Linked DNA regions of Homo sapiens: region 1 is linked to region 2. The links are contacts of gene promoters, found by promoter capture Hi-C in blood cells and fetal thymus (Javierre and others, 2016). All regions are on one chromosome and are shown on one strand. Each heading gives the region's core, a stretch centred on a gene start or on the middle of the fragment in contact. The rest is flanking DNA. Distances are from core to core; before and after follow the strand shown. Region 1 overlaps NBDY (negative regulator of P-body association). Region 2 holds the start of GNL3L (G protein nucleolar 3 like).

What was found. Contacts are between HindIII fragments. The CHiCAGO score rates a contact against its expected background, and 5 or more counts as called.
Region 1: a fragment that was not itself captured here is called in contact with the fragment with the promoter of GNL3L in region 2 in 1 of 17 cell types (monocytes); the score reaches 5.2 in monocytes.

What each region holds. Positions count from the first base shown.
Region 1 is chrX:56,787,446-56,790,765 of GRCh38, forward strand. The region is part of intron 2 of NBDY (negative regulator of P-body association); the gene reads left to right. Among named protein-coding and RNA genes, the nearest start is that of NBDY, 60 kb to the left of the region's middle. The HindIII fragment of the contact is 4,764 bases long and covers 1-3,320 here.
Region 2 is chrX:54,528,659-54,532,025 of GRCh38, forward strand. It overlaps GNL3L (G protein nucleolar 3 like), which reads left to right and starts at 1,561. Exons shown (of 16, transcript NM_001184819.2): 1 at 1,561-1,761. RefSeq lists enhancers at 962-1,482, 1,137-1,186, 1,637-1,696, 1,707-1,966. The HindIII fragment of the contact is 4,164 bases long and covers 285-3,367 here.

The sequences.
Region 1 (3,320 bases), core at 524-3,023, 2.3 Mb after region 2:
CAAAGGGGAACGGGGGACAAACAAGCATTCCTGGCTGCAGGTGTGGGTCATCATGCCATTTATTGGGCAACTAAGGCCTTCTTCTGAACATAAATGCAGGAAGTCTGTTATCAGATAGGCCCAAGCAGCAGGTGTGAAACTGGAGCATCCTGGGTCAAGCTGCTTAAAAAGGGACCCCACTTTGGGGTAGGGGTAGATAAAGTCCCCTTGGGATCCTTGTCCTTGTGTGATGCCATGAGAATCTGGTGTGTGGTGGCCTTCCCCAGCCAACCTGTGCCACCCTCCTCTCACCCTTGCCTGTGTGAAAGCAGAGTCAGACTTGAGTGAGGTGTTGAGTGTCCCCTGTGAGGAGACTCTGGCCTCAGGCCCTGTAGCTGCCTGTTGAGTGGGTGGCCCCAGTGGCCCATTCTGGTGACCTCCATTTATGATCCCAAGTTGGCAAACTCTACCTGCAGTTCCAGGCCTTGGGAAGTCTCCTAGTCTGGGGGCAAATCCTTGTATAAGACAGCCGAGTGGCCAGCGCCTCGTCCTGGAGCTGCAGCCCTATGATCCCAGTCCTCCTGTGGTTTCCCAGAGGCCATGATAATGTGTTCTTTGTCTTTTACTTTCTGCACCTGCGGGAGCCATGAAACCTAGAGAGGACCAAAGGAAGGGCAAAGGCTGGCTGCCTCCATAGCATTCCCGCAGGGTCTCCAGGCTACTGGTCCTTGGTGCTAGAGTCCCCTGAGTTTGGTTGTCAGCCTGGGACCAGGTGGCTTGTTCCTTTCTCTTCTCCTTATCTTTTTTATTTTTTTCTCCTTCCTCTTTATTCACATGGGAGAAGGCAGAGACCATCAGCTTAGAGAAGCAAGGTTATGGTTGTAGTTGGCATTTGTGGAGCCATACTGCCATCAAGTGGAAACTGTTTCTGGAAATGGGAGGGAGCTGGGCACAAGTGCTGGGGAAAGCCCAGGGGCACAAAACAGATGGTGGCATGGGGCCCCCAGACTGAAGCAGGATGAGAGAGGAGCTCCTCACTGGCCCTTGGCCTGGGCTCATTCCCAGGATGGTGCCCTGGCTCCACAGCTGCATGTAAGAAAGGGCAGTTGGGGCAGCCCACCATGGCTTCCCCTGGCAGTTTCCAGGAACTGCCGGGCATGAGTCGCCCCACACTCAGCACCCCGTAGCTCCTTTTTTTTTTTTTTTACCAGGAAGATAGGGGCCTTCTGGCCTTACTGTGGCCCCAGCCAAGGAGGGCAAGCTGTAACTGCCCACAGAAGAAACCAGAGTAAACCACTTCATTCTCTGGCTGTCAGTGGCCAGTGGCTTCCCTTATGCGTATCTCAAAATGGCTGGGGGGCAGCTTCACTGTGTGGACTGACTCGTCTTGGGGCTGCCTGGCTGCCCTGTGTCAGGGCCTCTAGAGTAACTGCTTCTCCAAGGGGTCCCAGTGGCAGGCACTCTTTGTTCTAGGGCTCTAAACCCCAGTTGGGGAAACCCTGGCTTAAGCAGAGTCCACCCAGCCCCGCACATTTTCACTGATCTCTGTGCCTGGCAGAAGGCGAGTGTCCCTGCAGCCTGTTGTCATGTTCAGAAACATCTTCCTCTGGGTGGCACTGTGGCTCCGCAAATGGCAGTCACGTCTTTTCCTTCCCCCACCTTGCCTTGTCTTTCTCCATTTGCTGCCAACGGAATAAAACAAATGCCAAAAACAAAAAGCAAAGAAACAACGAAGAAACTGGCCAAGGATCACCCACCTCACCTACAGCAGGGATCCCCACCTACGTGGTCACTTTGGGGGAACCTGCAACAGTAGGAGGTTCTTTGCCTCCCTCCTTCCCTCTGGATTCTTCTCTGGGCAGGGTACCCAGTGAACCAGAGGAGTCTGTTCTCATGAAATCCCACCCTTAGGGCTGTGTCATGGTGGGGGTAGGTTGTACTGGGGGCAGTATGATGGGGTACAGGAGAGGGATGTGTGAGTGTGTGGGCCTGCATGCAGGCCACTGCAGATTCCTCTAGGAATTGGCCCAGGTCCCCAAAGCAAGAGACCAGGCCTCATGATGGCATGCACCACACTTGTCCCTAGGTAGCACTCTTCCTCTTGGGGAAGGGACAAAATCTTGGATGGAAAGCAGCCAGGTCCAACAGGCATCCACACATTGTTGAGCCATGGAGCAGCAGGGAGTTGGGTCGGATGTTTGTTGAGATGGGACTGCATGGGACTGACTCCTGTTCGAGGCCTTCAGCTACCTCTCTCTCTGGAGCCCAGGCACTCATAGGGGTCCAGGGGTTGGAGGGATTTTCCAGGTTTTTTCACAGGTGGCTCTCCTGGAGAGAGAGCCACTTGTCATGTCTTACTGAGCGTGCATGCTCACTGGAACGTGGTGGTTCACCAGTTATTTGCCTTGGCATCTTGGTCATTCTTCCCATGTGCATGGGTAGCCAGAGCCCAGACAGTGCTTGCCTTCTCCTGGGCCCTATCTTTGTTCCTGTTCTGCGTGTCGAAATGGAGGTTGAGCCTGGAGTGTGTTGGTGGGGGGTGTGGTGGAGTGTCTGTGCCTTTGTTTGATACAGAGCTCTCTGAGGTCCTCAAGCTAAACTCTGGTGCTTGCCGGATATTCATCCAGAAAAATGAATGAGACAGTCGAGGACAAATTATGCTGCCCCTTTAGGGTCTCCAGGAAGACATAAGAAAGCCTCACTTGGGCCATCATACAGAGCCCATTTTGGGATGCGAAGCCATGACCGCGTTGCTCTAAAGGTTACATATGCTACCCATGCTGCTTGATGCCTGGGCAGCAGTATGGAACACACAGCTCTTCGAATATTGCAAATGTTTTCTTTCTTTGCTTGTTACAAATCTTCCTGGATGTGTAGACCACACTGTGAACAAGCAGAGCTTCATAGGACAGAAAATTCACCCCATGGGTATTGATTCCCACACTCAGGGGTGTGTGAACCACTCTCACATCACAAGAGCAGTGTCAATCTCGTGTGTGGGCCTCTACTCTCAGGGCATTCTGGGAAGAAGACCCACATGACTATGGAACAGGAGTCACCCCCTTTTGGTCACTTGTCAACAAATGCAGATTCTTTTCTCATAAGTAGGTAGCATGCACCACGGGGCACCTCCGGCCCTGCCTAGGTACAATGGGAGAAGAAAAGAATGCAGGAAGATCTGACTGCGTCTTTAGGAGTGACATGGCAACTCTGAGTTTCAGAGGTCCTCGTTTTTAACTTTTAACTCCCATTACGTCTCAACATTTTCCTGTCTTCATCTGTGCTTCCAAAGGTCCTCAGATACATACACATCTCACCATGCATACTAACAAGCACCTGCC
Region 2 (3,367 bases), core at 311-2,810:
TGGGATTTTGTTTAAAAAGTCCTTCCCCAGTCACAAGTCACAAAGATATTCTCCTGCATATATTAACTTCATAGTTTTACCTTTCACATTCACAGTCTACCCTCTTAGGTGGAATAAATAGAGATCCAGTTTTATATTTCTTTTCATGGAGAGCCAAATTTCCCAATGCCATCTACTAAACAGCCCATTTCCCATTTTTTGTGGTGCAGGCCTGTAAACTCACCCATTTAACAAACAGTTGTTGAAGCCTGCCTCATACCAGTCTTGTGCTGGGTGTTGTTGAAAGCTTGAAGATACATGGCCCCTGCTCTCAGGGAGTTCACCCTCCTGTGGAGACACAGTCACATAAACAACTACAGTATTGTGATAAGTGCTAGCTTAGCTGTATAGGTAAGGTGCTCTGGGTTTCTAACTCATCTGCGAAAGTCAGAGAAGGTTTCATCGAAGTGACAAGAGTTAGGTCTTAGAGAAACAGAGCAAAATTGCAAATGCAGGGGGAAAGGTGAAAGTGGTCAGGGCTGGTTTCAGGTCCAGAGGAATTTCATGTGTCTCTAGGATGAGAGGTTAGAAGCCCTCCAACGATGTAGAGAGGTAGTGAGTCCTGTTTATGTAAGGGATAAAGGGACAGATGGAGTCATTTTCAGCCCGTCTGTGCTTGAAGTGGAGAAACAAACCCACCCTCGGAGGCACAGAGTTCCACCTACTCTGTGCCCCACCCCAGGGTTTAGGCTTGAGGAAGAGGAGGGGCTGGAATTAAACCATCAAGAAGAAAACATTTGCAGACTAATATTTACTATTTTGTGGGGGAGACCTCACTTCCCAGCCAGCTCCTTGAGATGGCTTCAGAAACCCCTACTTGCCCCACTCCAGAGATATAAATTCATTCCCTTCTGCAGACGCTGCTCCGGGATTGAGGGAAGGATGGAGTAGGAGGGGAAGAAGGCAAAAGGGTGGGAGAGGCTTCTAGTGTGGGAGAGGCTTCTAGTCGTTCTGGCTCCTGCTCCAGCTCGGGTTGGGTATGGCCATAGATCTGAACGTATGCAGAAAAAGCTAGGAGTGCTCAGGGATGGTCTGGGGCTCAAGGACCCGGGAAGGTGGTTGGGAATAGCTAACCAATTCACTTCAGGTGGGGAAATACTCGGCCAGACACGTGACCCAGGCGGCCATTTTCTCACACCCTGCTGTCGCCATCTTCCAGGCAGACAAAGACACCATCCCCCACCCTTGTCTGATTCGGGCGTGGTGACTGCCTGGTTATTGAGATTTGGGAGCACGCATATTTAACCCCAGACAGATGCCCGCAGACAAAATTTTGGCTTGCAAGTAAGGTATATGGCCGCACCAGTCGACCCGCCGCTTCTTCCCGGTCATTTCCCCGTCCTCCTTCTCCCTCCTCCGCTATTTCCTTAACTACGGGGCAGGCAGGAGGCGGGGCCAGCGTGGTCGCGAAGAAGGGACGGGCGGGCGTGAGCTGTCAGTCAGAAGCTCCGCCCCCCCCCCCCCCCCCCCGCGGAGACCGCACGGTGGGCGGAGTCGGGCGCCGCCGGCCTGGGATCCGGAAGTCGGAGCCTAGCTGCGCGAGAGTTTCTGCTCGCTCAACCGAGTTGTCGTGTTGCCCTCGCTTCTCAGATCCCCGCCGGAAGTGTAAGTAAGAAACTTCTCTCCTCTTTTCTCACAATGTGCGCTCACCTAGACGGCCGGGCAGTTAGGATCGTCTATTGGATGTGAAACCAGAGATGCCCGCCAACCTGGAATAGAGAGGTAAACAGCAGGATCCCTTCCAGGGTAGAAGGGACCGGAAGAGGGGCAGGGATCGCGGCACACGTGGAGACGCGCCGAATTGCCTTTTCGCGGAGTGGAGTTTGCCGGGAGAGGGGCATTGCCCCATCCCACCTAGAAAGGTGTAGACCCGGGACACACTGTGTAGAGAGGCACAAACTTCACTTGTGTGGTGAAGCGTTGATCGTCCTCAAGATAGTGAGGCTTCATTCTGCATTCACCTTGTATAGACAGGAGTCGACCCACCAAAGGCATGGGGGACATCCACCCCAACCGTGTAGAGACATCTCCCTCCACCCAGCTGAGCAGCGCAGACTTCTCCCGACTTAAGGCACTTCCTTGGCTTGGCTCTAGACAGCCGTCTCGAGGCACCTCCTCAGGACAGACAGAGGCTTTGATGTATCTGCCCCCATACCAGCATAGAGGAGCTTAGAAACATTTAATATACAGAGGGAGGGCACCTCCTCCCCATACGCGTAGACTCAGAGCCCTCAGTATCGCTCCCCAACTCACCCGTCCCCAAAGTGGTTGCAGTTACAGGCCTCAGCTTATGGACAACTAAGCCAATTGCCCCCTCCTCTTAGGTTAGAGTGAGTCCCCATTGTGGAGAATCAGACCTGATCCCTACTTCCGTAGCCCCCGTTTTACCGAATGTGTAATTTTTCGAAGCACCCAACATGCTTCGAAGCAAACAGGAACAGACCTTAATCCATGAAGAGACAGTCAGGTCTGCCCCTTGAGGGGCCGTGGGGGTAGAGGGGCTCAGATGTGTTCCTCTCCCTTTGAGGTAGACACAGATCATCCCCCTACCTCCCCCTACCTCCCCCAAAGATTTAGAATCACTAAATGTAGCAAGGGAGATACCCCACAGGAGCAGATATGCAGGTCTCCCTCCCTGTAATGTTGAGAGGGAGTGACATCGCTGATTACCTGGCAGTTCAGTGCGTATGGTCTCTCCCCTTTACCCAAGGTAGTGGAGCTCAGATCTGTTTCTCTCCACCCAGGGTAGAATCACAGACGCCCCCACCCCCAAGTATTAGGGCTGATCTATTAATTTATAGCTGCATTGCCAGCCCCCTCCACACACCACCCATGCAGAGAACCAGAGCCCCTATTTCTTTCAGTGTTAGTGTGCCGCTGACTTCAACCAGCATAAAAGATGAAAGTTGTCACAGTCCACCTTCCATAGAAGGGTCCAGAATAGCTCACTGCAGGTAAGGTGCAGACCCGCTTATTCAAAGCTGCATAGTTGTGGAATCAGGCATATCGATCCTGTACCACAGCCCTCTCCAGGGTGAAGAGACGCAGGACCCATCCCCACAATCTAGAGATAAACAGATCTGTGATTCTTTCCCCATGCAGCAGAGATGCACACAGCCACTTTGTGGGTTTCCCCAGTTTCTCTGCACCCCAGAGTAGAGGGACAGATGGCAATCCCCCCAACCCAAATCACCAAGGTATAGACCCCAGGCATATGCAGGCACAGATTTTTACCCCCTCCTCCAAGATTTTGTACTTATCTCAATCCATATAGACACTCAGGTAAGAATCCCTGTTCTCAGGCCCCTTTTCCCCAGGGTAGACTCCT